Linked DNA regions of Homo sapiens: all the other regions are linked to region 1. The links are contacts of gene promoters, found by promoter capture Hi-C in blood cells and fetal thymus (Javierre and others, 2016). All regions are on one chromosome and are shown on one strand. The core of a region is centred on a gene start or on the middle of the fragment in contact, and the rest is flanking DNA. Distances in the headings are between cores, read along the strand shown.

Region 1 (2,912 bases), core at 161-2,660:
TGTAAGTGCGAGAGGCTCCCGCCTCTCTCCCTCCCTCTCTCCCCATTCAGTGTTCAGACTCCTGGCACTATGTGAGCCCAGCCTGTCTTGACTTCAGGATCCCGCCTTCTAAGCTGTGTGGTCCATTCCGGGGGCAGTCGTCCATCTGGGCCCAGATCCCTGAGTCTATTTCCAGCCTCCCTGAGACCACCCAGAATTTCCTCTTCTTCCTGGGGACCCAGGCTTTTGCTGTGCCCCTTCTGCTGATCTCCAGGTGAGACGGCCCAGACTTCTGGGTCTGGGTTTGAATGCGTGTGATCTGGGGGCCACCACCTGCGTCCAAGAGAGGAGAGGCTTGGGCGTGGGAGCAGGCAACGTACTGAGTCTGAGGGAGGAGGCCTAGGCTCCTGGACTGCTGGGTCCGAAGGAGGAGGTGGGCGGGACGTAGGACTCCTGGATCTGAAGGCGGAGGGGCTGGGAGACTGAACTCCTTGAGCCCAGACGAGGAGGGGCTTAGGCGTCCACATCCCTGGCTTCGAAGGAGCCAGACGTTTGGATATAATGGAAGAGCGTGTCAGGAGTGGCTTCCGTTCCTGTCTCCTTCAGCATCCTGATGGCGTACACTGTGGCTCTGGCTAACTCCTACGGACGCCTCATCTCTGAGCTCAAACGTCAGAGAGAGACGGTGAGCCAGGCGGGTCCCTGAGAGGGCCCCTGGGGAACATGGAAAGGGGTTGGGGAAGAGGATTGTCTCACCTCCACCTCTCTTTGCCCCAGGAGGCGCAGAATAAAGTCTTCCTGGCACGGCGCGCTGTGGCGCTGACCTCCACCAAACCGGCTCTTTGACCCCCGCAGCCCACGTCCCGCTTTCAGACCCCAGGCCCATTGTAAGCCTAGGTCACAACATCTGTAAACTAGGAGAACTGGAGAAGACTCCACGCCCTTCCAGCTTTGGTATCTGGAGATTTCCAGGGCCCCTCGCCGCCACGTCCCTGACTCTCGGGTGATCTTCCTTGTATCAATAAATACAGCCGAGGTTGCTGAGCGCGCTTTGAAATCTGCGTCCTGAAGGTGGGGGCAGGGCTACAGCGGGGCAGGAGCCAATCAAATGTACGGGCATGTTTGTCGGTGCAGAGCGCTCTTCCGCAAGGAGACTTGTCGGTCATGTCGGCCAATCGACGGCCGCATCTGGTAGCATCAGGGGCGGGCCAACTTATGATTGGTTCAGATCTGTGACAAGAGGCGGTTGCTAGGGGATACCACGAGCCGAACGCCTAGCATTCGCTGTGATAAAGGGCGTCTCAGCCAATCACCTGTCGCTACAGGCCAGGGGGCCGTACCAACTAATTCGGAACCAATCCGCGGTCGAAGTAGGGACAAGAAAAAGGGGGGCATCCTCTCGCCAATCGGAAGTGCAAAGAGGCGGGCGTGCCAGTCCCTGGACAGCTACGACGCCATGAATATCTTGCCCAAGAAGAGCTGGCACGTCCGGAACAAGGACAATGTCGCCCGCGTGCGGCGTGACGAGGCCCAGGCCCGGGAGGAGGAGAAGGAGCGTGAGCGGAGGGTGCTGCTGGCTCAGCAAGAGGTAAGCTCGGAAGCCGGCAGGGCGGCGCTCCGGGGCCCAGCGCGCAGGCGCCGCGGTTGGGGGCCGGAAGCGGAGGCGTTGCGCAGGCTCAATGTGCCCCGTGTGAAATTCGGGACCAGGCGCCGATCCCACTTTCGAGGACGTTGCCCCGCAAACCTTGTGCCCACTTCCACGAAACCTTCCTTGATCTCGCCCTCGTCTTAGTTTTTCCCCCACTGATGTATTTCACATGGCTGGAACAGTGTCTAGCACAAAAGAGAAGCTTAACATTTAATGAATCCGTGAACCCTTGGACAGTTCAAGGAAATTCGGATCACTTTTTAGTTTGCCTGCACAGCCTATTTATTGAGCATCTACTGTATGCTAACTACATGCCGTGCACCTGACTTGCGGAATCCCCAATAAGCACTGTTCGTTCTTAGAGGGGCACTGTCATCTCTGTTGCACGAAGTGAGATGGCTTCAGTGAGGGGAAGGCACATTTTAAGGAGAGGCGGACAGCCAGGCTCCACGCCATCGGGCGAGCCCTTTCGTGCACCGCCCCCTAGACACATACACACAAACACGGGCTTTCCGTATGGCTCTTTAAATCTGTTTGGTGTACACCCAACTTTCATTTCCTTAGCTAGTCTGATCCTCCGCCGTGGGTGGGAGGTAGTCTAGGTTTTTAGAATCTCAGTAGGCTGCTGAGCGCTGTTTGAAATCCGCGTCCTGAAGGCAGGGGACAGGGCTTCAGCAGACTTGGGGTAGTCACTTGGAGCCATGGCTAGAATTCAGATCGTCTGGCCTAATGCATACCTTTATGGCTGTTTTAATTGTCTCACTTGAGGTTAGGAACCCCTTTGGTTTAGGCCAGGGACCTCCTCCCATACATCCTTGATGACCCGTGGTTTACTATTTGAAAGGGAGTTTACAAAACCCAGGCGTTGCCTCATCTGCCTACCCTCACCCCCAGCTAGGACAGGTGCCTCTTTTAGGCGCCTAGTGCTCCCTTTCTCATAACCCCAGCACCCTGGACTGCCATTTTCTGTGGTGGGCACCAGACTCACAGTTCTTGAATTACCTCTAGGTTCTGAATGTCCTGCCTATAACTTTCTCCCCAGGCCCGTACAGAATTCCTACGGAAGAAAGCCAGACATCAGAACTCACTGCCTGAGCTTGAAGCAGCAGAGGCGGGAGCCCCAGGTTCTGGCCCTGTGGACCTGTTTCGGGAGCTGCTGGAGGAAGGGAAAGGAGTGATCAGAGGCAATAAAGAGTACAAGGAAGAAAAGCGACAGGAGAAAGTAAGCTGGCCTCACCCACTTCATCAGAGGGGCCATGAATCGAGTTGGAGGGAGGGGGCACTT
Region 2 (2,912 bases), core at 211-2,710, 1.5 Mb before region 1:
CACTTCCTTTTAGGAAAAGTTTCCTAAAATGGAAAGCATCCCCACTATCACTGCTTGTTACCCTTTGTGCGCCACTGACTACCTCCCTAGCAAAATAAAAACTGTGACTCCAGCCCGGCTCTCCCACGTTCCATCAAGCTGCCTCGGAGAGGGCCTCCAACTGAGCTCTGCAAAACCCCGCCACCACCTGCCACTCCTCCTGGGTCCACCTCTCACCACTCAGGTCAGGTCTGAGGACGTAGTCCCCCGACTTTTCTTCCCTTTTCTCCTCTCAACCCACCCCAGCAGACAATCAATCCCTAAATCTGTTTACCTCTTTACATCTTAGACCCCGGGCCTCCTGACCGCCGAGATTTCTCTAATCTGTGGTTTCTTCTTTTTTCCTGTTGCCCAGCCCCAGTTCAGTTTACTTCCCCTCCCTTTGCCGCCCCCTACCCCCCCACCGGCCCCCGTATCGGCCTCCTGGCCCTCCGTCCCCACTACATGCCGCAGGGCCTCCCCATCTTCATATTCCGTGGCCTCCCTCACTTCCTCTCTAGGTACCTCCCCAGAGCCCCACTAACCCAATTCCCCACATTTCACTAGGGCTTTTCCATCCTGTTCCTACACTTAGCACCTCGAAGTCTAGTCACCTCTCCCCACTACGGAACCCATCGTCTTACTACATCTATACACCCCAAAATGGCTCAAATGCCTTCCTTCTGTATACCCCGCCCCCCCAACCTGGCTACCTGCTACATTCTCCCCAAAGGCCCCCTTTTCTCTCGCCCCCCATATATGGCGGTGACATCGTTACTTCTTTCTGTACCCATCAGGGGCCTTCTCCCAAACCCCGTTATGCACACCAGGCTCCGGGACTCCGCTTCCCACAGCACCTCTCCCAAGCCCACTTTCCCCTCCTTTCTGTGTACGTCTGGCATCTCTCTTTCTCCTCGTGTTCACCTCTTCCAGGAGCCCCATCCCTCTCCCTGTTACACACAGCGTGGTCCCCCGCCCGTTCTTTTGCTCTGCTCCCCTTGTTTATGGGAACCCCAGCGCCCGGGCGTTTTCGCCCCCATCCCGCTACACACCGCCTGTCCCCTGGCCCTGGGGCCCCTCCTATTGCCTTCACTTCCCCAAGGAGCCCTGGCGCCTCGACTTCCCCTCCCGTCCCTCCGCCCGATCCTGCCGCTCCCGACCCCCACCCCCATCCCGGGTGGCTCCAGCGCACTCCCCCAGCCTGCCTGGCCCCGGCGTCGTCCCAGGGCCAGGCTCCTCCCTCCATCCCGGCCCCCGTACCCCGTGCGGCGGCCTCTCGGGTCCGGAGGAACGGGCCGAGGTCCCGGGCGGCCCCGGGCTTCCCCTGGCGAGCGCCGGCGGCGGAACCGAGACTTCCGGGCAGCTCCGGGCCGGCGGCGCCGGGGACGCGGGGACTGGGGGCGCGGGGGTGCGAGGGGTTGGCGGAGTCCCTGGGAAAAGGCGCCGGCCGGAAGCGCGCGAGCCCAGTGCGGAGGTTCCGCCGCCTGGAGCCGGCGCTCCCACCCCTCGCCTCTGCGGAGCGCCCTGCGGGGAGGGGACCGGAGGCGTGGGGTCCACTGAAGACGCCCGCCCCCGGCGGCCCCGCTCCCCTCCCACCTCCCGAACGGAACGATTCCGCCGCTTGACAAGAGATCGGCCAATAAACCGAGACTAAGCAAAGTTACGTCTTCGCCCTAAGGCCCACAAGGGTTTGTCCTCTTTCCACTGGGCCGTCGCTGCCTGCTCGGCCGTGGCCACCCACCGAGGTAGAGGGCGGGAGAAGGGATGTTCCTGCCGGCTGAGCAAATGTGGAGACCGAGGTCCAGAGACCAGCCATTGGCTCCGATGTGGCCGGGCCGTGATTCTCCACCCAGCAAATGGGGAGGCCGAGGCCCGGAGAAGGCCAGACGCTGCCAGATAGTTGGGGAAGGTATGTTCTTTCCACGGGGCACATGCGGGAACCGAGGCCCACAGAGGGCCAGACGGCTGCATGCGCAGGTGGGGAGGTGTGATATTTCCAGAAGGCATGTGGCGACACCGAAGCGCAGCGAAGGCCAGGCTTTGCCAGATGCGGAGGTGGGAAAGGCTGGCACTGCCCACGGGGCCCACTGGAAGCCTGATGCGGGCTCGCGGGCTGCGCCAGGTCCTGGGGCACTTGAGGCCCGGGCGCTGGCTGCGCATGCGAAGGACTCCGGCGTCGAAAGCAACGCGCGGTGGCGCTGCAGCCGCACTGGAGAGCTGCACACGCGGCAGCACTCGGGGCAGCTGCAGCTCCTCCTCCAGCCACGTGGCGCCACGGCCTCGCAGGAGGGCGGCAGCAGCAGCATCTGCAGGTGCAGCTGAGAGTGGGGGACAGAAGAGGAGTAACTGTCACAGCGAGCCCCAAGACCCTGGGGTGCCACAGCTACATCCTAGAGCACTGTCCATCAGAACTTTCTGCAATGGTGGAAAGTTCTATGACAGTCACTAGCCACGTGGGACTCTTACACTCTTGAAATGTGGCTGGTGTATCAGAGGACCTGAATTTTAAATTGTATTACATTTCCCATAATCAGCACGGTGGCTCACACCTGTAACCCCAGCACTTTCGGAGGCCAAGGCGGGCGGATCACCTGAGGTCAGGAGTTCGAGACCAGCCTGGCCAACATGGTGAAACTCCTTCTCTACTAAAAGTACAAAAATTAGCCGGCCGTAGTGGTGCTCCCCTACAGTCCCAGCTACTTGGGAGGCTGAGGCAGGAGAATCGCTTGAACCCAGGAGGTGGAGGTTGCAGTGTGCCAAGATCGTGCCACTATACTGCAGCCTGGGCAACAGAGGGAGACTGTCTCAAAAAATACTAATTTCCCATAATCAAAATTTAAGCCACATATGGCTCCTACCTTATGGAACAATTCCAGAGACCACTGTCAACCAGT
Region 3 (2,912 bases), core at 159-2,658, 1.5 Mb before region 1:
GCCCAGTAGTTGGAGACCAGCCTGGGCAACATAGTGGGACTCCCTCTACATTAAAAATAATAATAATAATTTTTGTTTGTTTTGCTGTCTAAGATGGAGTCTTGTTCTGTCGCCTGAGCTGGAGGGCAGTGGCATGATCACATCTCACTGCAACCTCCACCTCCTGGGTTCAAGCGATTCTCGTGTCTTAGTCTCCCGAGTAGCTGGGATTACAGGCAGCAGCCACAACACCTGGCTAATTTTTGCATTTTTAGTAGAAACGGTATTTGCCATGTTGGCCAGGCTGGTTTCGAACTCCTGACCTCAGGTGATCTGCCTACCTCAGCCTCCCAATGTGCTGGTATTACAGGCCTGAGCCACCGTGCCCAGCCAGAAATAATTTTTTTTTAACTAGCTGGATGTGGTGGTGCATGCCTGTAATCCCAGCTACTCAGGGAGATGAAGTGGGAGGATCGCTTGAGCCCAGGAGGTCAAGGTTGCAATGAGCCACGATCGCGCCAGGGCAACAGAGTGAGGCCCTGTCTGAAAATAACAGAGGAGCCCAAGCTTTAATAATTGGGGCGTGCTGGGGCGGTCCTGAGGCAGGTTCCACAGGCTCCTCTTTCTTCTCCTCTTGCCCAGGTCCTGGTGCCTGATGACTGCCGGCCTGGCACACCCCCGAGTGACCTCATCGAGATCCAGGTGGTGAAGGTGACGGACACCACGCTGGTCCCTGAGCCCCCGGAGCCAGGTTCTTTCCACTGTGCCTTGTGCCCTGCTGCCTTCCGGCTGGTTTCCGAGCTGCTGTTCCACGAACATGGCCACTTGGCTGGGGCCGAGGGAGGCGGGCAGGGTGGGGACCCGAGCCGGTGCCACGTGTGCGGCCACAGCTGCCCGGGCCCCGCCAGCCTGCGCGCGCACTACAGCTTGCACACGGGGGAGCGGCCCTACCGCTGCGCGCTCTGCCCCCGCGCCTTCAAGGCCTTGGCGCCCCTGCTCCGGCACCAGCACCGGCACGGGGTGGAGCCGGGCACCTCTCGGAGGCCTCCGGACACAGCGGCCGTTGCAGAACAGAGGCCCGGGGTGGCCCCGGAGAGGGCGGAGGTGGTGATGGCGGCGGCGGCGGCGGGCGCAGCGGTGGGGAAGCCTTTTGCCTGCAGGTTCTGCGCCAAGCCCTTCCGCCGCTCCTCAGACATGCGAGACCACGAGCGCGTGCACACTGGCGAGCGGCCATACCATTGCGGCATCTGCGGCAAGGGCTTCACCCAGTCCTCGGTGCTTAGCGGCCACGCCCGCATCCACACTGGCGAGCGCCCGTTCCGCTGCACGCTCTGCGACCGCACCTTCAACAACTCCTCCAACTTCCGCAAGCACCAGCGCACCCACTTCCACGGGCCGGGGCCGGGGCTGGGAGACTCTGGAGGCCAGCTGGGCTCGTCGGCGGCTGAGGGGTCGGGGAGCGGGTGTGGGGTAGGGGACCCTGCGGAGGAGGGGCGGGGGGAGACCGCGAAGGTGAAGGTGGAGGCCGACCAGTAGGCTGCAGACCAGGGACATGGGTTAGTTAAGGCGGAGGTACGAGGCCGACCCGGGGAGGGGGACGGGGTGGGGAAACGGAGGCAGGGGACAGAAGAGGGGAGATTGGGGGAGAGATGACAGCTGCAGGGATGGTTGTGAGCCGCTAGTGATGGAGAGCAGAGGGAGAGGGCCAGGCTCCAGACTCCCACACGCCCACACAGCACCTCTGCCAGGCCTAGGAGAGGACAGGTGCAGCTCTTGCAGCTCTGCGGGTGTGCGGCCAAAGGCAAGGCCCACGGGCTGGATGTCACTTCCCCGACTGTCTCTTGGTTGGCTTGTCCTTGTGCAAGACCCAGCCTGTCACGACAGAGCCTGGGCACTTCAGAGGAGGAGCCAGGATCGAATGGAAGGGGGGAATTGGGGTCCACCATAGTCTTCTGCTCTGGTCCTCCACGGGTGGACCAGGATGGAGTCTCCTGCCTACCTCACTGCATTGCACTGGACCTGGGATGCCTATCCACCCTCTGGCAGAAGACACTCACCAGGTTATCTGTGAAGAGACTCTGGGATCCCATCACCTCAAAGCCAGAGGGTCCCCAAGTCACCGCTGAGAGCACTTGAGCCTCAAGGATGTAAGCCTGACCATAGGATCTTGACTCCAACAGCGGCAACCCCCACCCCCATTGTGGTCCGTCCTTAACCCATCCACTCTTCTTCGGAGGCAACTGAGAACACATAAAGCAAGCAGCTACCTAGCATCCCCCTCCTAAAGCTTTAGACTCAGAGCCCAGGGTCCCCCACAAGCCTCAAGGTAGCCTCAGGTTTCTCTAATTTCCTCCACTCCCAGTTCGAAGCAAACAGCTTACTGCCTAGTCCCCGCCAATCCCAAGGGCGGGCTGGCTGATGGCAGCATGGTGGGCTGGCCTGGGTGTGGAGTGAAAGAGTCACTGTGGTGGGGGCGAGAGGAGGACTTGGGAGCTGGAGGTGTGACACCTTCAGTTCTGTTCCTATTAAAGGACCTTCTGAAGGGCTTCTCTGTCGGTCTTGTATTCGGATTGTCCGCTTTGGGGAGTTGGGGGAGGAGGGGCCTCACCATGGTTTTGCCACCAGCAGTCAGTTGCATCATCTCTTCCTCCAAGCTTCTGTTTCCCCATCATCAGAATGGGGGGTGAGTAGGCCCCACTGTGGTTACGTGTTATGTGGTTCAGCTGTAGGAGAGGGGGGTCAGGGAAGTTTGGCAAAAGCACACTCAACATGCTTTGCATGCTTGTTGAGTGAGAGCCTCTGATTTGCACACCTTTCTGTTCACCCAGTGGGCCCCATGAGATAACTCACAGGCAACTCACAATGTGAACAGAACTCATTCCATTTTCCTCAAAGAAACCTCCATGCTTCTGATGTCATTGGCACCACCACCC
Region 4 (2,912 bases), core at 142-2,641, 1.4 Mb before region 1:
CGTCTCTACAAAAAAAAAAAATACAAAAATTAGGCTGGACGCGGTGGCTCACGCCTGTAATCCCAGCACTTTGGGAGGCCGAGGCGGGTGGATCACGAGGTCAGGAGGTCAAGACCAGCCTGGCCAAGATGGTGAAACCCCGTCTCTACTAAAATTACAAAAATTAGCCAGGCGTGGTGGCGGGCGCCTGTAATTCCAGCTACTCGGGAGGCTGAGGGAGAGAACTGCTTGAACCCGGGAGGCAGAGGTTGCAGTGAGCCAGATTGCCCCACTGCACTCCAGCCTGGACGACAGCAAGACTCCGTCTCAAAAAAAAAAAATTAGCTAAATATGCTGGCGCCCGTCTGTAGTCTCAGCTACTCCGGAGGCTGAAGCAGGAGGGTCGCTTGAGCCTGGCAGGTCGAGGCTGCAGTGAGCGGTGATAGGGCCACTGCACTCCAGCCTGGATGACAGAGCGAGACCCTGTCTCAAAAAAAAAATTATCCGTCCTCCTTGCCCCACTCTCACGCAGTTCCTCCTGTTCTTCCCCAGCTCCAAGCCCCTACTCTCTATTAGATCAACTCTATCCATCCTCTTTAAACCGCTCTCACTTTCTGCGGACCAACCCCTAAACCTCTTTAAGCCCCACCCAACTCTAACCCTCTTCTAAGCCCCCGCCCCAGGTCCCAGCCTAACTGCCCCGCAATCTCAGCCCCACCCCTCGCTCCTTAGCCCCGCCCCAATCCACACCCCTTATCTCTAAACCTTACCCAGACCGTCCTGCTCATACCTTTGTCTTAATTTTTCCTTCCAAACAGTAGGTCCTCAGGACAAGGAGGTGGGGCAAAGTGGCTGCAGAATTTCTGGGAATTGGCTAGGAGAGAGGCGGTCGGACCTACAGTCAGGTCTGCATGGAAGGTTCAATGTTTTTAGTTAGATTGGATGTGTACTGGGAATACAGCTGACCCTTGAACAACAGGGGTTTGAACTGCAGGTCCATTGAGAGGCGGACGTTTTTTCACCCAAACACCGGTGGAACATACAGTATACGAAGGGCGGATTTTCCTACATCCGCGGGTTCCGCAGGGCCCACTGCTGGACTTGTGTATGCCCAGATCTTGGTATCTGCGAGGTTCGTGGAACCAATTCCCCGCGGACTCCGAGGGACCCATGGACTTTGGGGTCTGATGGAGATGGGGAAGGGGCCAAGGTTCCCCCCAAAACCATTCTTTGGCGAGCACCACGCTCATGAGGCACAGGAAGTGGGGTCCTCTCCAATTCCCCGCACTCCCGACAGGACGGTGTAGCCGAGGAAGAACATTTGAAGGCAGGAGAGGATGGCATCCCGGCACGGAACACACACAGGCAGCCAGCAGGCAGAGATTTATTTCCACAGCCCCTGCCTCCAAGGGTCTGTTAGTCTGGGGGAGGGGGGCTGAAGGCAGCTGGACCCCAAAGTTTAGGTCTCCACCCTCCACCTGCTCCCACAACGGGAAGACCACCGGAAACAAGGGTGTCCCGGCCCCCTGGCTCAGGCCCAGCACCAGCCAAACTCCCTGCTCTAAACCTGGCCCAGGGAGCGATGGCCGGGGGTGTGGGTCAGGCCGGCTCCCCTTTCCCCTCTGTCTCCTCCTCCTCCTCGGCCCCTGCTGTGGCCGGGATGCCCTCCTCGTCCCACGGCGGTTCAGACCCTGGATCTGGTGCACACAGGGGTACCCCCATGGCCTCCGGGTGCTTGCGCTTCGCATGGCGCCGGAGCGTGTTGGCCTCTGTAAAGCGCAGCCGGCAGATGGGGCACTGGTACGGGCGCTCCCCCGAGTGCACGCGGTGGTGGTGCGCCAGCTCGCCCGCCTCGCGGAAGCGGCGGGGGCACAGCGGGCAGCGGAAGGGCCGCAGGCCGGCATGGATGTTGCAGTGCCGCCGCAGGTGGCTGGAGCGCTTGAAGGTCTTGCCGCAAACCTTGCACTGGTGCGGCTTCAGCTCTGAGTGCGAGATGCTGTGGCGCTCCAGGTCGGAGAGGTAGGGGAAGGCCCGCAGGCACACCGGGCAGAAGTGTGGGGCCTTCCTGGGGCCAGAGCCCTCAGGCCCAGCCGCTGAACCTTCAGAGACCGTATAGGGCACACCCTGATCATCGATCAGGAGGAGGTCGCTCCCGCCACTGCTGCCTACTGGGGCTGTCACCCCCTGCACCTGCACCAGTGGGGGCTCCTGCCCTGACTTGGGGGGGCGGCCCCGCTTGCGAGGGAGGGAGGCCTTGAGTGTCCGATTTGAGGAGGTGGCTCCCCCAGGACGACGGCCTCGGCGGCCCCGGGGAACAGGAGGAGATAAGGCCAGAGGTTTCTCTTCCTCCCCGGGCAAAGGCGAAGGCAACGGGTCTGGGCTGGGGGTGTCCATTGAGCAGTGGGGGGCTTGGGTCTGGGCACTGGAGCCAGCTAAGAGGAGAGAGGGGCAGAGTCAGTGCTCACAGGGTCTAGAGCACCCCTGTGTCCCCCAACACCTCGCCCATCCCTCTCTCCAAGTCTCTTGACAAAGGTGTGTTTGACATTCATCCAGATACACAATTTTAGCTATGCTGGTGGGTAAAACAGTGAGATGATCTTGTATCAGCTGATAAACAGGCACTTCCCTGAGCTCCACCAGACATCCCTATGCCTCCCTAACTCTCCTTCTGGATCTAGAAGTTCAAGATCAACATGAGCAACACCCCTCCCCACCTCCCCACAAAAAAAAACCTTCCAGAGAGGATAGAGTCCAACTGAGAGTGCAGACCAGTATTGTGATCCTTGAAACGGAGAGCCCATCAAACTCCAGAGCCATAGAGGCCTCACGAATGCTCTCATCCCTCCCTGCTGACTGGCAGAAGTGGGGAAGGGGTTCCAGAGTGGAAAAAAGGGACTGGTCCCAGGTGATATTTGACCCTGATTCCTGGATGA
Region 5 (2,912 bases), core at 288-2,787, 1.2 Mb before region 1:
AAGTCACCCAACTCAGTTTTAAGGCAACACCTCTCAATCTGAGCTAATAGACCCAACTAAGGGAAGGACAAAGGAAATGGTAATTCACAGCAGACAGGGGCTGGCAAGTGGTCAGATCTGCTCTCCTTCGAGCTGGGCAAGACTGGAGCAGACAGGACTGAGGTCGGAAGGGCAGTGGTCTGCCTCAAAACGCAGGGCTCCCAGCCCCGTACGACCCCAACCAATGGCAAGTCGAGGCCCTGACAGTCCCCTTACTCTCAGTCAGAGCCGGGGGTGGTCTCAGACAGGGAGCAGAGTCCTTCTTTGAATCGGGTACCCCAGGATGGCAGGAACCAGGGGTGCCATGGATGCTGGATCCTTGGTCCCTGGCAGTGGCTGACAGAGTTAGGTGCCCAGGAAACATGTGAGGATCAACAGCAGGACTCTTTCCCCATCCAGGCCTCACTGTGTGTCATGGTGTCTTCCAGGCTGGAGTGTAGTGGTGGGGCTCATGGGCTCACTGCAGCCTCATACTCTTGGCTCAAGTGCTCCGCTCACCTCAGCCTCTACTCAACCTCTGAGGAGCTGGGACCACAGGCGGTGCACCACCACACCCAGCTAATTTTATTTTAGAGACGGTGTCTCATTATGTTGCCTAGGATGGTCTCAAACTCCTGGCCTCACAAGCTGTAATAAACACTAGGGAGCAAACAGGCCAAAGGAAACAAGAGGGCTGGGCAATCAGGAAAGCTTGGGTGACAGGGTGGCCCAGGAGCGGCCACTGAGATGAGACCTAAGTGACAAGAGCCAGCTCAAAGAGACAGGGGAGGGATGGGGACACCTGGAGGACGGGAGTAGGGGGACAATGCTAAGGCTGCTCAATGCCTGCTGGCTGTACCCTGGGGCTGCCATCTCCCTTACAGTTATAAGCCACCACCCACCAAGTTGCCCATCTCAGAGATGAGGTTGCATCAAGTAAAGCCCATCCCCTCCAAATGTGGCTGCACCCACTCCCTGGATGCAAAAGTCATCTCATCTTCCTCCCGTGATGTCTGTCGTCCCCCAGGTCTTGGGAACACCCCAAGTCCCCAAACCGTGCTACAGCACCAGGGCCCAGGGCCCAGCCCTCAGCCTGCACCCTTCTGGGCTAGAAAAGGCCTTTCTTCTTCTGAATGGAAGCCACTGCCCCAGCTGGGATTCTTCAGGCCACCTCACAATGGGACAGTAGGTCTCAATCACAAGTCAGCAAACTTTTTCTGTGAAGACAGTGACCCTTGCCCTCACCAGGGACAAGGCAGCTACCCCACCCCTCCTGCATGGCCAGCCATTGACATCACCTCCAGATGGACAAGGTGACATGCAGAGTTTTGATGACATGGCCTGAATGACAACACACAGGGCCAGAGCTCCCCAGAGCGTTTCAAAAAGGGAGGCCCAGTCGAGGCAGGTGAGAAAGCCAGCTGACTTTATTGCTCTGGGGGCAGGGGGCTCAGGAGCTCTTGGTGGGGCGGGTCCGCTTCCTCTTCACCATCACAGGCTTCTGGCTGCGCAGGATGGCGCTGGCCCTGCGGATGGCTGCCTGGGGGCGGGGGAGCAGAGCAAGGCTCAGCCCATACACTCCACAAGCCGCCCCCTAGGCCAATGCTGGGTGTGGGGAGTAGGCTGAAAGCAAGAATCCATCCCTCTCCAGCCCATATTGCAACCAGTAGTGGGAGGCCCTTCCCCACAGCACTGGCCAGTCTCCCCAAGCCTGATCCCCAAACCCCAGCTCACCATGCGCAGGTCGGGGCGGTACTTGTTCTTGCGGATCATGTGTCTGATGCTGCTGAGCGTGGCGCGAGCATTCTTGTTGATGGTGGTCCGCACATAGGAGGTGGCAGGCTTCCGCTGGCCTGGTTGGGGGTCAGGGAGGTCCTGGGGTCAGTCCACCTAACCTGCACCTTTAGCACACCTCGCAGGTGTGGACAGTCTCACATTGAGAAGCTGAGCAGCGTGGGCCCGTGGCGGGTGCCTGGGCAGGCCAGCAGGTAGCTGTTTTCCCACCTGTCCATTTCACAGAGGCTCACTCGTCATCACGGAGTACTGAGGACACAGCTTCTGCCACACTCATAGCCCAATTCTGTCCACCATGAAAACACTCCTTTCTCATGCCAGAAAGCTGCCGCTTCAGTTAGGATCTGATCCAGGTCCAGCCAGAGCCCACGCTCCTGGCAATGGGTATGAACAGCTTCCCAGGAACCCCAGGCCCATCCCCACAGCAGTGGTTCAACATCAGCTTGGCTGAGAGGCCCAGCCTCACTCAGGCCAGTCCCTTAGTCTAGGAAGGGCCACCCATGTATTCGGCAATCCAAGAGGTGAAAGCTTTCAGGACTCCCCAGAACGGGGTCCCCAAGTGCCAAGCAATTGGCTGCTCCCTGGACTACGTGTCCCTGAGACAGGAGGATCACTAGCCAACAGACTGCGTTTGTTGCTGCCACTGAGTAAAAGGACCCTTGGCTCTGAGGCAGTTCCAATCAAGGACCTGAGAAAAACTCACTCTAAAAAGAAAATACAGCCCTGTCAAGAACACATGTGAAGCTGGACTCCTCCATTAGAGACCCCCGACTCACACGAACATTCAGGGAATCCCCAAAAAGGCCTGCACCTGACAGCACAATGTATGGAGTGGGGTCCCCAAGACCTCTTCTCTAACCTACACAGGCAAAATGGGAATCAAATGGCTGCAACCAACCCAGCCTGTCCCCTCCTAAGTGTGGTAGCGAGGGCCCCTCCCCTGTTGTGCCTCAATCTTCCCACCTGTGGGATGAAACCATCCATCCCCACCCTGACTTGCTTTGAGAATTTCATCTGAAAACATCAACCCCGTGCCTTAACTCTCAACAACCACCGAGGAAGTTCAGGTCCTTTTTCATTTCTCCACTTTACAGGTGAGG
Region 6 (2,912 bases), core at 219-2,718, 1.2 Mb before region 1:
TCAGGAGGCTCCGGGTGAAGCCCCAGGCAGCCTGGAGGCGGGTGACGGGAGGGAGGGCAGGGGAGGGATCCCAGCACCTGCTCCCTCTCCAAGGATTCCAGGGGAGGGGGGCTCAGAGGACAAAAGCGGGGGTGGGGAGGGGAGCAAAGGAAGACTATGGGGAGGCAGCACAGGTCAATATTTACAAAAACATTTTTTTAAAGCGGAGCCAGGAGAGAACGGAGAGATGAAGAAAACCACCCAAACCCCTAACCCGGACGGAGGGCCAGCCTCGTCCCCGCACCACGGCGCTCGAGGCTCATCCGCGCCCAGGAGAGGAGGAGATGGGGCAGGGCAAGGAGCGGGAGCTGCAGAGACGGCTGTGGAGGGGTCGGGGACAGACTGCGAGGCTGCGGGAGAGAAAGAGGGGGCGCTGCAGGAGGACGCCAGGGACAGCGGGGAAGCTGGAGAGGGGGCTGGGGGCAAGGAGAGAAACGCACAGCGGTGGGCACGGCAGGGGGCTGTGGGAGGGAGAAGGCTGCAGCCGGGCCTGGGGGCGCTCAGAGGGGTGTGAGGAAGGGATGGGGGTGCCAGGGAGGACAGAGAGCGGGGAATGGCCTAGGGACTCAGGGAGGAGCCAGACGGGAGACCTGGGTCGGGGGGCGGTCCAGGGATGGCGGAGAAGATCCTGGGTGTCCAGTGAGTGAAGGGCCTGAGAGGGCGGACAGGGGCCCAGGGATCCAAACGGGCTTGGTGGGGTCCTGGGGGATCCAGGAAAGGGAGACCCTAGGGAAGGGCCTGGGGACCCAGGGAGGCGCCTGGGTAGGCGGTGAGAGCCCAGGGCAAGGGACCTGGAGGGTCAGAGGCCGACCTCAGGGTCCAGGGAGTGCCAGGAGAGGGACAGAGGGGTCAGGGAGAGGTTCTAGGGCACAGAAAGACCTAGAGGGTCCAGAAGGAGGCCTGGAGGGTGAGAGGAGGTCGGGGATTGGCCCTGGGAGTGCAGGGAGGTCCCGGGGGTGAGAGAAGGGTCAGGGAGAGGCCCTGAGGGTGCAGGGAGAGACCTGGGGGTGCAGGGAGAGGCCTGGAGGGTGAGGTCAGGGAAAGGCCCTGGGGGGTGCAGGGAGAGGCCTGGAGAGTGACAAGAGGTCAGGGAGAGGCCCTGAGGATGCAGGGAGGGCCGTGGACGTAAGAAGGGGGTCAGGGCCCGGGTGAGGAAGCACAGGAAGGAGGCTGCAGTGCCGCGGAGCCCGAGGCCCGGCGAGGGGCCGGGAGACGTGGGCGCCTGGACACGAGGAGGGGCCGGGCGGGGTGGGGGGCAGTCGGGGCAGGGGGCGACTGGGGAGCCAAGGCGGCGCGGGGCTGGGGCCGTGAAGGGGCTCAGAGATCGGGCCCCGCGCCGCCCCTCACCCGCTTCTCCTCCTCCTCCTCAGGCGCCCGCGCCGCCGCCGCCAACACCTCCCACAGCCTCCTTCGGCTCTCGTCAAACACTGTCGCCGCACCTCCCATCTGCTCTCCGGGCCAGCCCCGCCAAGGCCACTGAGGCTTTCTATTGGCCACAGCCACCGCCACTCCTCCGTTGCTACGAAGCTCACGGCGCTCCCATTGGCCAAGCCCCACTCTTTCCCTCCGCGCCCGGCTCTCGTCAATACACAGATAAAACCCCGCCACGCCCCCGCCGCCGTCAAACGCCGCGAACTGTTGTCAGTGGTTCACATCGCTGTCCTTTAGTCGCTGCCATGGAGACTTGTCCCGCCTTCGCTCACACTGGGGCTCGAAATCGACGCACTCATTGGCCGAAAGCGCAGTCTCTCCGGGCGAAACTCGGTTTGGGTCGGGTTATTCAGGTCCAAGTGGAAAGAGGGCGGGCTCTGCCAGCTCCAGTAGTCGTATATGATTGCCTGGCCTTGGGACAGCTCCTCTTTCCATTGGGTAAGGCCTCCGTCCATCACCATAGAGTCGCGGCCTCCCTCTTCTATTTCTCCGAGGAAAGCTTCGGCCACAGGAGGGAGAAAGCCAGACCCGGCGGGAGGGAGGCGGTGAATGCGCGCGCACCGCCATCCCTCTCCCCTCCCGCCCCGCGAGGCCTGCGGTTACCAAGGCGACGAAACTTTATTGACAGCTCTGCCTGGCTACAAAGGGCTCCTCAGTCTCTCTCCCTCCCTCCCCGTTTACACCGTTGCGTTTTGGGAGTATCCACACGCACTCTGTGGGACCTTCCCGCGATATGAACGGGGTCGGATGGAGGGAGGGGAGGCTGAGGGAGGAGTGGGGACTTTTGAGACAAGCCCTGACTCCTGGGGCGCTCCCCTGGGGCACCCCCTAATTGGGATCACCCCCCCTACCTCAATCCTAGAGGCAAACGTAACTAACAATTCATCATAATTACGCCGAGAATAATAAGCTCCACACTCAGAACAGGCGGTCTTTGTTTGCTTGTTTGTTTGTTTCGCCACAGCCATTCTTCCCTTAACGACACTGATACCATCTGGGCAGTGCGTGCTCAGGCGATGTCGTCATCCTGCCAGCATCCTAGAGCAACATCACTCACACCTACGTGGCAGGGCTGCTGGCACCTGGGCTGTAAGGTGGCCGGCGGCTCCTGGGCCACACAGCTGTGCAGCATGTTACTGTCCGGTAACACAATGTAGGCGCTTGTGTGTCTACACATATAGGATCACTGTCAGACATGCGCTCCACTGTACAGCTATAGATCGTGGGCACTTAAAACAATGCATGCCACAGAGTAGGTGCTGTTTTGGTGTGCTGTTTTTGGTGTTTTGGTGTGTGTGTGTGTGTGTGTGTGTGTGTGTGTGAGAGAGAGAGAGAGAGAGAGAGAGAGAGAGAGAGAGAGAGAGAGAGAGAGACAGAGACAGAGTATCGCTCTCTCGCCCAGGCTAGAGTGCAGTGGAGTGATCTCGGCTCACTGCAGCCTC
Region 7 (2,912 bases), core at 235-2,734, 1.1 Mb before region 1:
CTGCTGAGCATTGGGACAGCTCAGGCAGCTGTTTCTGGAGGCCCCCTGAGGCATCTGTGCCCATGACCTCCATTTCTGGGTGCTCGTGGGTCAGCGCAGGTTGGGAAGGGGTGACAGATGAAGCATGGGCCCACCGGTTCCCTGGCGGCAGAGCTGTGCTTGGGCGGATACGTGCAGCAGTGGGGATGGCTCTGTGGGAGCCGCAGTTAGTGCCTGTCCAAGCAGGGGAAGGAAGGGGCTGGCAGGCCCTTGAGGGGTGGCTGGTGTTGAAGGCCCTAAAACACCACAGCTAAGTCAGAAACCAGAGGCAATAGTGCAGAGCTGGTGGAGGGAGAGCGGCAGAGGTAGTTTTCGTTTTTAATGGCTTCCTTTCTCATTTACAATTTCCCCTTCTTCCGTTTGCAGCCAGACTCATGGTTTTCAAACGGTAGCTAAAAACTAGTGGTAGTCACTTCCGCTTTCTTGAAGTTGCTAAAAGTTGCAAAGAATGGGGGTGGCGGGGTGCATGGCGCCTGCCGTAGTATCCGAATGGTCTGAGGAAAAGTACTTGAGTCACTTAGGCAAATGGGTAGAGTCTTTCTCCTGCTCCTCTGTGTTTAGCACCATCACCTTTGGGGTAGTGACCGGTCCCCTACCTGTCCTGCCAGAAAGCATCTGGACGTGGCCTCAGGGTTGGACCGGAAGAGACTTGCACCTGCTGAGCTCCTGCTGTGTCACGGCCACCTGCTTTAGCTCAATGCCTTTTCACAGCAGCCCGCCCTGGTGGGCTGTGTCTCCTTTTCACGGATGAGGAAATGAGACTCAGAGAAATCAAGCGCCTGCCCAGGTTCACCAGGAGAGTGCGAGTGAAACCCACTCTCCTGCTCCATTCGCAGGGATTCTAGCAGGCTTCATTAGGTTGGGAGAGGGGACTGAGAGGGCTTCAGGCCATAGTGCATTCAGAGGTTGTGGTGGGGGAAAGTTTTTTTCTCTTTTTTTCTGTTCTTCCATATTTGCATCTTCATTCTGTTTAGAGCCTGATAATTGAGGTCTGTAGAGTGTCGACCACTCAATTGCATTTGAGCCTTTCAGTCTATTCTGATTTTCAGAGGAGCCACTTGAGATGGAGAGTTCAGGGCGCTGCCTGGGTTCTCAGGGCCGAAGTTCTTGGATGCCGTGCACCAGCGAGCACCCTCCCGTCTCATTCTGGCTGCCCCTGCCCCAGTTGTCTGGGGAGCTCGGTTTGGAGGGGAAGCCTGACCTTTTCCCCGAAGCAGATGGTTAGTCTGTACCAGGGGTAGGGGGTTTGGGGGCCGAGGGCCATGCCTGTGCCCTTTAATCAGGTATCTTAGAAGTGAACGGTGGGCCTCAGTGTGAGAATTTCTGCCTGTTGTTTAGAGACCAGGGCACACTGGAAGCCTCTTGCTAGCCATGTGGCTCCACCCCTCTGGGCCCCTCTTCCACATGAGACTCTGTCGGAATAATAAGAATTCTTTACTTGGTCTTGATGTGGAGCCGAGACAAGTGTCTCTGCAAGTGCGGGTCCATGGATTTTCTACAGATGCTGGCTTGGTGCTGCTCCTATCCCGTCCCCACTGTGGAGGGGCTCACTTAGCTTAGAGCTGTTGGTGGTGAGGGATGGGGAAGGGGTAACCTGGGTGAGTGCCCCAGGGCTGAGCCTTGGCAGCTTCAGCTCTGCCAGGCTGGCCGGCATCTCATCAGCTCTGCGGACGCTGGGACATAGTGCAAGGCCTGAGCCTGGCCCTGGCTCTGTCCCTGCCATGGCCGATGGCCTGAGGCAGGTTTTTTTTTTTCCCCCAACAGTTTTTATTGAGATATTCTGTACAGTTCATCCATTTAGAGTGTACAGCCAGGCGCAGTGGCTCACGCCTGTAAGCCCAGCACTTTGGGAGGCCGAGGCAGGCAGATCACTTGAGGTCAGGCATTCAAGACCAGCCTGGCCAACGTGGTGAAACCCCGTCTGTACTAAAAAAATGCAAAAATTAGGCCGGGCGTGGTGATTCATGCCTGTAATCCCAGTGCTTTGGGAGGCCCAGGCAGGCGGATCACAAGGTCAGTAGTTCGAGACCAGCCTGGCCAATATGGTGAAACCCCGTCTTTACTAAAAAAACACACACAAAAATTAGCTGGGTGTGGTGGCGCACTCCTGTAATCCCAGGTACTCAGGCTGAGGTGGGAGAATTGCTTAAAACCGGGAGGCGGAGATTGCAGTGAGCCGAGATCGCGCCGCTGCACTCCAGCCTGGGTGACAGAGCGAAACTCTGTCTCAAAAAAAAAAAAAAAAAAAATCAGCCAAGAATGGTGGTGCGCACCTGTAGTCCCCACTACTCGGGAGGCTGAGGCAGGAGATATGCTTGAACCCAGGAGCTGGAGGTTGCGGTGAGCCGAGATCGCGCCACTGCACTCCAGGCTGGGTGACAGAGAGAGACTCTGTCTCAAGAAAAAAAATAATAAATAAAGGGTACAATTCAGTGGTTCTTAGTGTATTCACAACGTTGTGGAAACATCACCACAATTGATTTTGGAACTTTTTTTTAATCACCCTTTCCTTTCAGGAACTTCGCCCAATCCCCGCCAGCTCCTGGAAGCCTGTAAGCTCTTTTCTGTCTCTATGGATTTGCCTGTTCTGGATGCTTCACATAGTTGGAGGCCTGCAGTGTGTGGTTCCTTGGGACTGGCTTTGCTGGCATGGCATGGGCAGCCTATCAGCCTGCTTGGTCTCCCACGGAGAAAGAGGCTGTGTGTGTGTGCTTGCCACGTCTCGGTGCTTTGCTCGCCACAGCCTTAGGCCGGAAATTGGCAGAGTCATGATAAATTTGGCGGTTGCCCCTTGAGATTATTCTGGTCCCAGGTACACCCAGATCAGGAAATCCATTCCCCCTCCCGCTTCCCTCAGCACGCTGGTGAGTCAC

The links. The method cuts DNA at HindIII sites, captures the fragments that hold promoters and counts their contacts. A CHiCAGO score of 5 or more calls a contact.
Region 2: a contact is called between the fragment with the promoter of ZNF580 here and the fragment with the promoter of LENG1 in region 1, in 5 of 17 cell types (activated CD4 T cells, non-activated CD4 T cells, fetal thymus and 2 more). The highest score is 12.5, in activated CD4 T cells.
Region 3: a fragment that was not itself captured here is called in contact with the fragment with the promoter of LENG1 in region 1 in 1 of 17 cell types (fetal thymus); the score reaches 5.1 in fetal thymus.
Region 4: a contact is called between a fragment that was not itself captured here and the fragment with the promoter of LENG1 in region 1, in 7 of 17 cell types (activated CD4 T cells, non-activated CD4 T cells, naive CD4 T cells and 4 more). The highest score is 10.4, in activated CD4 T cells.
Region 5: a fragment that was not itself captured here is called in contact with the fragment with the promoter of LENG1 in region 1 in 1 of 17 cell types (fetal thymus); the score reaches 5.8 in fetal thymus.
Region 6: the fragment with the promoter of KMT5C here is called in contact with the fragment with the promoter of LENG1 in region 1 in 10 of 17 cell types (fetal thymus, naive CD4 T cells, activated CD4 T cells and 7 more); the score reaches 17.3 in fetal thymus.
Region 7: a fragment that was not itself captured here is called in contact with the fragment with the promoter of LENG1 in region 1 in 1 of 17 cell types (fetal thymus); the score reaches 6.8 in fetal thymus.

The regions. Positions count from the first base shown.
Region 1 is chr19:54,158,219-54,161,130 of GRCh38, reverse strand. It overlaps LENG1 (leukocyte receptor cluster member 1), which reads left to right and starts at 1,410. Exons shown (of 4, transcript NM_024316.3): 1 at 1,410-1,567; 2 at 2,670-2,849. The coding sequence starts at 1,436. TMC4 (transmembrane channel like 4) reads left to right here. Exons shown (of 15, transcript NM_144686.4): 12 at 1; 13 at 98-253; 14 at 586-664; 15 at 757-1,023. The coding sequence ends at 825. RefSeq lists an enhancer at 1,408-2,077. The HindIII fragment of the contact is 1,716 bases long and covers 116-1,831 here.
Region 2 is chr19:55,639,550-55,642,461 of GRCh38, reverse strand. It overlaps ZNF580 (zinc finger protein 580), which reads right to left and starts at 1,460. Exons shown (of 2, transcript NM_207115.2): 1 at 1,279-1,460. LOC107983998 (a long non-coding RNA gene) reads right to left here. Exons shown (of 2, transcript NR_171683.1): 2 at 1,663-2,336. It also overlaps a transcript of ZNF581 not described here. RefSeq lists a silencer at 1,091-1,610. The HindIII fragment of the contact is 9,119 bases long and covers 1-2,912 here.
Region 3 is chr19:55,620,354-55,623,265 of GRCh38, reverse strand. ZNF784 (zinc finger protein 784) reads left to right here. Exons shown (of 2, transcript NM_203374.2): 2 at 622-2,525. The coding sequence ends at 1,515. Among named protein-coding and RNA genes, the nearest start is that of ZNF784, 2.8 kb to the left of the region's middle. The HindIII fragment of the contact is 1,720 bases long and covers 549-2,268 here.
Region 4 is chr19:55,601,574-55,604,485 of GRCh38, reverse strand. It overlaps ZNF524 (zinc finger protein 524), which reads right to left. Exons shown (of 2, transcript NM_153219.4): 2 at 1,348-2,411. The coding sequence starts at 2,373. The coding sequence ends at 1,579. Among named protein-coding and RNA genes, the nearest start is that of ZNF865, 2.6 kb to the left of the region's middle. RefSeq lists enhancers at 1-217, 1,321-1,871. The HindIII fragment of the contact is 3,453 bases long and covers 1-2,912 here.
Region 5 is chr19:55,386,889-55,389,800 of GRCh38, reverse strand. It overlaps RPL28 (ribosomal protein L28), which reads right to left. Exons shown (of 5, transcript NM_000991.5): 4 at 1,753-1,871; 5 at 1-1,558. The coding sequence ends at 1,469. MIR6805 (microRNA 6805) reads right to left here and starts at 1,620; the gene lies at 1,559-1,620. The HindIII fragment of the contact is 1,611 bases long and covers 732-2,342 here.
Region 6 is chr19:55,338,432-55,341,343 of GRCh38, reverse strand. KMT5C (lysine methyltransferase 5C) reads right to left here and starts at 1,468. Exons shown (of 9, transcript NM_032701.4): 1 at 1,387-1,468. RefSeq lists silencers at 1-71, 1,317-1,376 and enhancers at 1,397-1,466, 1,776-2,549, 2,550-2,912. The HindIII fragment of the contact is 2,060 bases long and covers 1-1,971 here.
Region 7 is chr19:55,251,773-55,254,684 of GRCh38, reverse strand. All of the region lies in intron 1 of PPP6R1 (protein phosphatase 6 regulatory subunit 1), which reads left to right. Among named protein-coding and RNA genes, the nearest start is that of PPP6R1, 5.8 kb to the left of the region's middle. RefSeq lists enhancers at 1-17, 418-527, 538-757, 988-1,067. The HindIII fragment of the contact is 4,391 bases long and covers 1-2,912 here.